2 separate regions of the Homo sapiens genome follow, and region 2 is linked to region 1. The links are contacts of gene promoters, found by promoter capture Hi-C in blood cells and fetal thymus (Javierre and others, 2016). All regions are on one chromosome and are shown on one strand. Each heading gives the region's core, a stretch centred on a gene start or on the middle of the fragment in contact. The rest is flanking DNA. Distances are from core to core; before and after follow the strand shown.

What was found. The method cuts DNA at HindIII sites, captures the fragments that hold promoters and counts their contacts. A CHiCAGO score of 5 or more calls a contact.
Region 2: a fragment that was not itself captured here is called in contact with the fragment with the promoter of TOP3B in region 1 in 2 of 17 cell types (M0 macrophages and M1 macrophages); the score reaches 7.3 in M0 macrophages.

Annotation. Positions count from the first base shown.
Region 1 is chr22:21,979,499-21,984,935 of GRCh38, forward strand. TOP3B (DNA topoisomerase III beta) reads right to left here and starts at 3,289. Exons shown (of 18, transcript NM_001282112.2): 1 at 3,232-3,289. RefSeq lists enhancers at 2,690-3,676, 3,174-3,468. The HindIII fragment of the contact is 18,886 bases long and covers 1-5,437 here.
Region 2 is chr22:21,710,367-21,715,803 of GRCh38, forward strand. It overlaps YPEL1 (yippee like 1), which reads right to left. Exons shown (of 5, transcript NM_013313.5): 2 at 262-542. The coding sequence starts at 378. Among named protein-coding and RNA genes, the nearest start is that of YPEL1, 23 kb to the right of the region's middle. RefSeq lists enhancers at 1-876, 3,245-3,294 and a silencer at 3,503-3,661. The HindIII fragment of the contact is 3,252 bases long and covers 1,420-4,671 here.

The DNA of each region.
Region 1 (5,437 bases), core at 2,039-4,538:
ACAGGGCAGCGCTGGAGTGGCCTCAGGCTGGGCACGGTGGTGCCTGTGATGAACCACATCACTGGGGAGTTCTCTGCAGCATTATCAATCATGATAAAAGGTTAGAAACAAGCTGGTGTCTGTCAACAGGGAGGTGGTTAAATAAAAGCATGGCATTCTCTGGCCGGGCGCGGTGGCTCACGCCTGTAATCCCAGCACTTTGGGAGGCCAAGGTGGGCAGATCACGAGGTCAGGAGATCAAGACCATCCTGACTAACGTGGTGAAACCCCGTCTCTACTAAAAATACTAAAAATTAGCTGGGCATGGTGGCAGGCGCCTGTAGTCCCAGCTACTCGGGAGGCTGAGGCAGGAGAATGGTGTGAACCCGGGAAGCGGAGCTTGCAGTGAGCCGAGATTGCGCCACTGCACTCCAGCCTGGGCGACAGAGTGAGACTCCATCTCCAAAAAAAAAAAAAAAAAAAAAAAGCATGGCATTCTCTACAGTAGAGCACCTGGCAGCATTACAAAGGAAAGCATCTGCTTGGTACATACTAACGTGGATCAGATCACTGAAATAAATCATGCTAAGAAAGCTGGGCATGTAACGGTGTGTAGAGAGCACTGCCATCTGTGATCACACATATGTGTGCACACGTGTGCACTTGATTATGAAGAGGCGATATGTCTGGATGGAACGCAAAACAAACAGTCCAAGCAATCACCTGGAGTGGGTGTTAGGGCCTGGAGGTCAGGGCTGGGGGTGCCTCCTCACCACATTCCCTTTTGCACCTTTTACATTTAGCGCCTGGACACAGGTGACTGAGGGACAAGAACTAAGACAAGGGACTTTACAATAAAACCAGAAAAATAAAGGAGGGTTGTAAAGGGCATTGTTCAGAAAGGATGCCAAAGGAACTCCCTCACTAAAGGGGCTTCTGCTGCTCATCATGCTGTGCAGGGGAAGAGGTCCAAGGTCGGCCTTGGGCTGTCAACCTTGTTCCCCACTTAAGAGATCACAGGACTACAGTGAAATCAGTAATCTTGACCAGAAAGCTGTCCCAAATAAAATGACAATTTGCTTTTTTCCTCAAAATAAGTAAGTGGATGTTCCCCTTAAATGTACAACCATCCCACAGTGAAAGAGCCGAGGCCTTGTGGAATGACGACACTGTCTGCAGATGAGCTCTCTGGCCCATGACAGCTCCAGCTGCATCTCCCAAGGCTCTGCTGCGCACCCACCTTTCCTCCCTGTGCGCCAGCAGGCTTCGGCCTAGGCCACTTTTCCCCCTTAGTCTACTTGCTCTGACCCCTGCCCCTCCCCTCCTGAAGACTGCATCTGGCGTCAGCAGTCTGTCTCTCCCACAATTGTCAGGTTCATTGCCATATTTCTGGCACCCAGCATGCACTAAATGCCTGCTGAGGGAATGAATGAACAACCAAGGTGATTATGACTGGCCTCTGCTCTCCGTTCTGGGGAAGTTTTGATTCTACCAAAATCAGAGGCCCAGAAGTGAGGTTTAAAAGAGATTTAGGGACTCCCCTTCTCTCACCCTGGGAAGCCAGAGGCCAAAAGGGAAAACTCGCAGCAGAGGGGCATTGTTCTGTGAGGGTCTGAGTTTCCCATCTCTTCCAAAGTAGGAAATTTTGTCCTAAAATGTTTCCTCAGATTTTCTCATGTCTATGCCACAGAGTAGTCAGCAATTATGTATGACATAATGAGGACACACCAGGGACCAGGCAGTCCTGCCAGCATCCTAGGCAGGGATGCTAATAGGTGCTGCCATTTTATTGGCCTAGACTGGGACTGTGGGGTCAGAGAGACCAGAGCTCCAGTGGCTGGACTTGGTTGTTCTAGAACCCGTGCCCCAAGCCTGATCCTGTCCTGCCTCTGTGAGCACTCTGATGGAACAGCAGCCCAGCTTTGCTTCCTTGTAGCACTCATCACTACACTTGGTACAGCTTCCATCTACTTATTCAGCTCTTGTCTTACAGCTCCTAGAAAGTAAGTAAGCAGCAGGAGAACACGGGTTTTGCTTTGTGCATTCTCACGGTAAATAGACAGTGAGCAAATACTTTGCGAGGCTGAGGCAGGTGGATCACCCGAGGTCAGCAGTTCAAGACCAGCCTGGCCAACATGGTGAAGCCTGGTCTCTACTAAAAATACAAAAATTAGCTGGGCGTGGTGGCGCATGCCTGTAATCCCAGCTACTCAGGAGGCTGAGGCAGGAGAATCACTTGAACCCGGGGGCGGAGGTTGCAGTGAGCTGAGATCGCGCCACTGCACTCCAGCCTGGGTGACAGAGTGAGACTCTGCCTGCAACAAAACAAACAAAAAAAGAAACAAGCAGATGTGGCCTGGGAGTAGGCCTAGCAGTGGTCTGAATAGCATTAAAATTCCTAGGATTTACCACCTCAGTAACTTTACCAAATGCTTCTAGAATCAGGAAAAGAGGGAAACAACCATTTCTTAAGCTCCTCCTTTGTAGTAGGCACACCATAGCTATCAACACTATTCAATCTCGCCAGCAACCCCATAAGGCAGGTGTTGTAATTTTTTAAAACTGTGAGTAAATGGAGGTTCAGAACAAGTCACACTAGTGTCAGGTGACCTTGGCAAAAGAATCCCAGGACTGGCTGGCCATCAAGCCCAAGTTAGGCTGGCCTCTCAGGTCCTGTTTCAAAAGGTGAGAAGATAAAAAGGCAAGACTAGGAACATCTTACCTTTCACTTCTGCGAGAAATTATTGCCCCTGGATTCCAGCTAATTTGTTCACAAAAGTACCCTACTTCATTTACAGATAACAGGTCAGAGAACCTGGGTGCCCTCAAAACCCAGCCAGGGCCTAGGGGGCGGCGAGTGGAAGCTGCCTGGGTGTGTACCGCACCGATCTGGGCCCCGGTGGCTGCACAGCTTCCCTGAGCCTCAGTTTCCCTACCTGTGAGACTGGTACAGCAGATCTCACCCTAAAGAGCTGTGGGAGGGTTCGAAGAAGAAAAGTATTAACCACAGCGCCTGCTCCCTGCAGGCACATGGCGGGCCCATCTCCACCTCCCTGAACCCCCACAGCAAGCCCCGCGGGAGAGTATCACCCCCGCCAGGGAAGAGGCAACAAGAATGCAGAGCCCGGCCCGGGCGCTCTCCCGAGCTCGCGGGTCCTCCGCCGGCCAACGTTCAGGAAACAAGCCAGAAAAATGCGTGCGCTTCCCGCCTTTCTGAGCCGCCGGGCGAGGGTCCCGCAGCCCGCCGCTCACCCACAGCCGCACCGCGGATCCAGCTCCGGTCCTTGTTCCCGGGGCGGCTACCGACAACCCCTATTTCCGGGTCCAGCCGCTTCTGGCGTCCCCGCGTCCGGTGTGCCAGCGTCTGCCCTCCGGCTCCGGCGGGTCGGCGTTCTTAGGTTCCGTGGCTCGCGGATTCCGGGAGCACCCCAGGGAGTGGCACTTGCACGCCGCGGACCGCAGGGATCCCCAAGCCCTGCACCCAGATTCTTCCCCGCCACGGAGAGACAATCATGACAATTATCATTACAATGATTATGAAAACTGGCATGAAAACATTTATGCTGTTAATAATTAAAATAATAAAAATGTACCGATGTGTGTATAGCAGGCTTCTTTTCGATGCTGTAAAAAAATCTGTGGAATGAATGAATGATCTGTGTAAAATATATTTGGAAGATGAATTCTAAAATTAAGTTATTTATTTATTTATTTATTTATTTATTTTGAGACAGAGTTTTACTCTTGTCGCCCAGGCTGGAGTGCAGTGGTGTGATCTCGGCTCACTGAAACCTCCGCCTCCCAGGTTCAAGCAATTCGCCTGCCTCAGCCTCCTAAATAGCTGGGATTACAGGCGTGCGCCACCACGCCCAGCTAATTTATATGTGTATGTATATATATGTGTGTGTATACATATATATATATATTTTTTTTTTTTTTTTTGAGGCGGAGTCTCACTCTGTTGCCCAGGCTGAAGTGCAGTGGCGCAATCTCGGCTCACTGCAACCTCCGCCTCCCGGGTTCAAGCGATGATCTCGCCTCAGCCTCCCAAGTAGCTGGGACTATAGGCGCTTGCCACCACGCGGGCTAATTTTTTGTATTTTTTTAGTAGAGACGGGGCTTCACCGTGTTAGCCAGGATGGTCTCGATCTCCTGACCTCGTGATCCGCCCGCCTTGGCCTCCCAAAGATTTCTATATTTTTAGTAGAGACGGGGGTTTCACCGTGTTAACCAGGCTAGTCTTGAACTCCTGACCTTAGGTGGTCCGCCTCCCTCGGCCTCCCAAAATGCTGGGATTACAGGTGTGACTCTTCACGCTCGGCCAACTAATTTATTTGTTAGAGCATTAGGATTATGGAAGGTTTAAAATACGTTTTATGATCTTATTTTAAATAACATACACACATTGCCCTTGTTCCTTGTAGATTTTCCCAACCTGCTGTTTTTTTTTTTTTTTTTTTAAAGACAGGGTTTCACTCTGTCACCCAGGCTGGAGCGCAGTAGCGAGATCACAGCTCACTGCAGCCTCGATCTCCTGGCGTCAGGCGATGCTCTCACCTCAGCCTCCCCAGTAGCTGGGACCACAGGTGCCAGCCACCAAGCCCAGCCAATTAATTTTTTTTTTTTTGGTAGAGATGGGGTCTAGGGGGAGGGTCTCACTATGTTGCCCAGATTGGTCTCAAACTCCTGGCCTCAAGTGATCCTCCTGCCTCGGCCTCCCAAAGTGCTGGGATTACAGGGGTGAGCCACTGTCCCGGGCCCCAACCTGCCTTTATTGGAATGATCTGTGTAAAGTATATCTGGAAGATGAATTCTAAAATTAAGTTATTTATTTATCTAATTTATTTTGATAAATAATAAGTAGTCTGGATAGAGGCTCTGGAAAAAGAAAAGTTCTATAGGCAAATTAAGGTTTGGAAATGTCACAAATTATGAGTCACGGTGAGACTTCACTTTCAAAGCAGAACTCCTGATTCCAAACCCACACCTTGGTAGGTTCTTCGTCTCCAAAATGGCAACTCCATCTTCCTGGTTGCTCAGGGACAGAGCCTGGGAGCATCCTGGACCACCCACAAATCCTGCCATTACTGTCTTTACAATACAGATGCTCCTCAACTTCAGATGGAACTACATCCACATAAACCCATCTTAAGTTGAAAATATTGTGACTCGAAAGTACGTTTTTGACTTATGGTATTTTCAACTTACTATGGGCTTACCCAGATGTAGCCCCATCATGAGTCAAGAAGCGTGCAGAATGCATACTGGTTTTGTAGTTGAAAAATCCTGTAGGTGGAAATTGTCCTAAATCGAAGACTGTATATCGGAGATCCCCTCAAGTCTCCCTGCCTCCCTGCCACCACCCTGATCCGAGCTCCTCCTCTCCCTCCAGGTCTCCACCTTGCCGCCCTGCAGTGTGTTCTCCACATACCAGCCAGGGCTAAGATTGGCTCTGTTG
Region 2 (5,437 bases), core at 1,796-4,295, 270 kb before region 1:
ACCTTGCCCCTCGTAATCCCTGGGAGTGCCAGCTGCCTGGCCCTGGAAAACCGCCCACCATGCCAGGATCACATCTGAGATCGTGGCACAGCCACACTTAACCATGCACAAAACGCTCACCAATGCTGCCTAGAAGGCTCTAGACGTTCAGGACACAGCAGACTCAGGAAGTCATGTGATGCTTAAATATTCTTCCACTATGTAGGTACCACAATGACAGATAATCATTGTGCCATCAATTTTTTGGCATAAGCCACTTGCCTTGGAGATGAGCTCGTCATGATTGGCCAGGTGTGCTCTGCAGTGGATACAGCTGTACGTTCGGTGACAGTTCGGCAGATACGCTTGGAAAGTTTTGGACTTTGTCATTTTCACCATCTCTCCTGGGCACTCCTCACTCAGCTCAGGGCTGGTTCTGGAAGAACCGTGGCTCTGCTGGCCTCTCTGACAAAAGCAACACTGGAAAATGCACGCAAGAGCCGTCGTTGTCCAGGAGGGCGTGTGGCACTGTCCACACAGCTGGGACGAGAGAAAAACGTAACCTGCCAACCAATCAGACAAAGTGGTGGGTTACAGAGAGAACATGCGTGTGAAGCAGGTACATATGGGATTCATGTGTTGTGAAGCAACACGCGGGGTGGGGGGGTGGCAGGACTAGAATTTTTTTTTTTTTTTGAGATGGAGTCTCACTCTGTTGCCCAGGCTGGAGTGCAGTGGCGCAATCTCAGCTCGCTGCAACCTCCTCCTCCTGGGTTCAAGCGATTCTTCTACCTCAGCCTCTGAGTAGCTGGGATTACAGGAACACGCCACCAAGCCTGGCCTCCCAAAGTGCTGGGATTACAAGCACCACTGCGCCTGACCAAGATCCAACTCTTTAGTATCAATTGTAGACAAAATGAACACTGACACCATGCCACTGCTTAACCACTTTACATTTAGTTGGAAGTGAAAAAATGAACTCCTTTTACATGCAAATAATTTGAGAAAAACATTGATTCAAATTCTTCTTATACCAGGTTTGGCTTTGGAAACATGAAAGGAGAGGCAGAACCAAGACGCCCGGTGAGTGGGCCCGGTGGCAGGGCTGGATGCACCCCACCCCGAATCCGGGAATTCACCACGCAGAGCACCAGGACATTGAGGAATGTGAGTGATGGATCCAGTATTATTTAATCTTTAAGAAATTCCAGTCCTGAAATAAACCCTTATGTATGGTCACATGATCTTCAACAGGGTGTCAAGACCATTCAATGGGGAAAGGACAGTCTTTCAACAAATGGTGTCACAACAACTGGATATCCACCTGCAAAAATATAAAGTTGGACTCTTACCTAACACCGTATACAAATTAACTCAAAATAAAAGACCTAAATGTGAGAGCTAAGACTATAAAACTCTTAGAAGGAAACACAGGGGAAAAGCTTCATGACATTGGATGTGGCAATCATCTCTTGGATACGATACCAAAAGCATGGGCAGCAAAAGAAAAACAGACACATTAGACTTCGTAAAAATTCAAAACTTCTGGCTCGGTGCAGTGCTCACGCCTGTGGTCCCAGCACTTTGGGAGGCTGAGGTGGGTGGACCACTTGAGCCCAGGAACTCAAAACCAGCCTGGGCAACAAAGCAATACCTCATCTCAACTAAAAATACACAAAATTAGCTGGGTGTGGTCCCTGTGCCTGTGGTCCCAGCTACTTGGGATAGCTGAGGTGGGAGGATGGCTTGAGCCTGGGAAGTTGAGGCTCAAGTGAGCTGAGATCGTCCAACTGCACTCCAGCCTGAGCAACAGAGTGAAACCCTGTCTCTAAATAAATAAATAAAAACTTTTGTGCTTCAAAGGATACTATCAACAGAGGCAACCCAGAGAATGAGGGAAAATATTTTTAAATCATATACCTGATAAGGTGTTAATATCTAGAATACATATATTCTATATTCTCTCTATACATATTCTCTATATATCCATATTCTCTATATATCCTAGTTATTGGAATATGTAAAAAAAAAAAAAAAAAACAACTACAACTCAGCAAATCAAACAAACAGGTTAAAAAATGGATAAAGGGCCGGGTATGGGCCCGGCGTGGTGGCTCACGCCTGTAATCCCAGCATTATGGGAGGCCGAAGAAGGTGGATCACTAGGTCAGGAGATCGAGACCACCCTAGTCAACATGGCGAAACCCCGTCTCTACTAAAAATACAAAAAATTAGCCGGGCGTGGTGGCGGGTGCTTGTAGTCCCAGCTACTTGGGAGGCCGAGGCAGCAGAATTGCTTGAACCCAGGAGGCAGCGGTTGCAGTGAGCCGAGACCATATCACTGCACTCCAGCCTGGGCGACAGAGTGAGACTACATCTCAAAAAAAAAAAAAAAAGGAAAATGGATAAAGGACCTATGTATCTATATTCTCTATATATTCTAGTTGTTAGAATATGTTAAAAAAAACTCAGCAAAAAGAAACACAATCTGATTAAAAAATGGACAAAGGACCTATATATCTATATTCTATATAGTTATTAGAATATATTTAAGAAACTCCTACAACTCAACAAAACAACCCCAATCTGATTAAAAATGGACAAAGGACTTATATAAACATTTCTCCGAAGAAGATATACAGATGGCCCACAAGCACGTGAAAAGGTGCTCCATGTCACTGATCCTGAGGGAGGCAGACAAGGACCACGTTGAGACACCACCACACACCCTCTAGGACGGCTACTATCAACGCGCACACACGGAAAATAAGCGTTGGTGAGGATGTGGAGGAATTGGAGCCTTGTGCATTGAGGGTAAAAATGTAAAATGCTGGAGGCACTATGGGAAACAGTATGGTAATTCCTCAAAAAACGAAATATAGAATTACCATGGGCTCCAGCAATTCCACTGCTGGGTATAAATCCACGAGAACTGAAAACAGGGTCTCAAAGCCATGTCTGCACACCCATGCTCACAGCGACATTATCCACAACAGCCACGAGGGGGAAGCAACAGTGTGTCCCTCCACAAACGGGCATTCTCATGATCAAAATGTGGCGTCTGCATACAGTGGAATGTTATCCAGCCTTTAACAGGAGGGGGCTCCTGTCACAGCTACAGCATGGAGGAACCCTGAGGACACTATGCTCAGTGAAGTAAGCCAGTCACAAAGGACAAATATTGTATGAGGTACTTAGAGTAGTGGGACTCAGAGACAGAAAGAGCTGCCAGGGGCAGGGGAGTCCCCGCTTCATGGGTGCAGTGTTTCAGTTTTGCAACATGAAGAATTCTGGAGGTTGGAGGGTGGCGATGGCTGTACAAAAATGTGAATATATTTAATGTCACTGAACTGTACACTTAGAAATGGTTAAGATGGTAAGAGTTATGTGTACTGACTACAATTATTTTAAAGAAGAGTGTATCATTTTTACATTTCTAAGGTCTCATTAACAAAAGAAGGTTAAGTCCATGACTGATGCTGCCATCATCAGCAACAGGACGTGCGCCAAGTTTTCCTGGTGGCACCACCCCAGCCTGGCCTGTGACAAGGGGCCTGCAGAGAGTCAGGCACACCGGATTTTCTTTCAGGCCAAACAGAAGAGCAAGGGTTTCCCCAAATTCGAGAGCACGGGGCTGGGAAGAAGAGCCAAGCGCCAGCAGTGTCCTCACACCTGCTCCTCCTGAGATGCACCCCCCACCGCCCCCCACCCCATGTGACCTCTGCTCCGGCAGCAGCCTGTCCTGTGCCCTTCCATGGGATGACACCCAGGACGGCGTCTGCCCCCCACCTGCGCAGGCACGCCTGCATTAGAGGGTCACCTTCTCACATCTGGGACTGAAGATGTGTGTGGGCAGAACGCAGCGTTTGTAATCGTGTGAACGGAAGACACAAACGGCCGGTGGCGGCCACCCAGGATGGTACTGGGACCCGGTCACCACGGCGCTGCTGTGCCCTTCCTTGGTGCCCCGGCCTGAGATGCTGCCTAACTTGGACTTGGTGCTTCTTGGTCTTTGCTTGTCCTGATGGCTGTGCCCCGTGTGTGGCCCTGAGCCACACTGCTGCGTGTTCCGTGTTTTGAACTTGACACCGACGATGCTGTGAGACTTCTCTGCTGACGTGCAGCCAAGTCTGCCTCTGTCCCCATGTGCAGCTGGGCCCCCTTCACCTGGTGTCCCGTCAGATACACTGCATGCAGCCACTGACGGGGTGTGGATGTGTATCGGCTCCCAGGCTGGCTACTAAATGGTGCTGCTGTCGCTGTCACCTCTCCTGAGCCGCACAGGCAGGTGTTTCGTTGGAACAATCCCAGGAGCAGATGCCCGTGCACACAGCAGCACCTCCCAAGTGCCGGTGACAAGGTCATCCTGCCAGCAGCGAACATGAGTCCCTGCTGATCTTTATCCCGCCAACTTGATATGGTCAAATTTTAACACTTCTGCTGCCTGGCAGGTATAAGGCAGCAGCATCTCATTGTGGCTTTAATTTGCTTCAACCTGACCATACAGGTGGGCACCTTTTATGATTCCTCCTTTTCAAATCTTTGTCACATTTTCTATTAGCTGCTGGTCCTTTCCTTACTGATTCGTAGGAGTAAGTGATATATTCTGAAAACTAAAGCATACATTAAGCCATATCGGTCGTGGAATGATAAGCATTACTGGAATGTGGACATGACTGTGCCTGTGATGTAAGCTTCAGGAAACTATAGTGTAAGGCATGTATGTATAGTATGTGGATAAATGGATATGCCATATACACACACACACATACATATACATATATGTGTGGATTATGTATGTACATGTGCATTAATGGGTTTCAAGTTCTCTAAAAGAAAAAGTGTAACTAGACAAAAAAACTATTAAGGCTGGGTGTGGTGGCTCACATCTGTAATCCCAGCACTTTGGGAGGCTGAGGCGGGCAGATCGCCAGGTCAGGAGTTCGAGACCATCCTGGCCAACATGGTGAAAACCCCGTCTCTATTAAAAATACAAATATTAGCTGGGCGTGGTGGCGTGCGCCTGTAGTACCAGCTACTCGGGAGGCTGAAGCAGGAGAATCACTTGAACCCGGGAGGCGGAGGCTGCAGTGAGCCGAGATTGCACCACTGCACTCCAGCCTGGAGACAGAGTGAGACTCCATCTCAAGAAAAAACAACAACAACAAACAAACAAACAAAAAAACCCCACGCTGCTTACTATGTATAGTTCAAATAAAAAACATAAAAGGTAGATTTTTTATTTTTTTTATTTTTTTGAGATGGAATCTCTGTCGCCCAGGCTGGAGTGCGATGGCACCATCTGCGCTCACTGCAACCTCCGCCTCCCGGGTTCAAGTGATTCTCCTGCCTCAGCCTCCTGAGTAGCTGGGACTACTGGCACGTGCCACCACACCTAATTTTTCTTTTTCTTTTCTTTTTTTTTTTTTTTTTTTGAGACAGAGTTTCGCTCTTATTG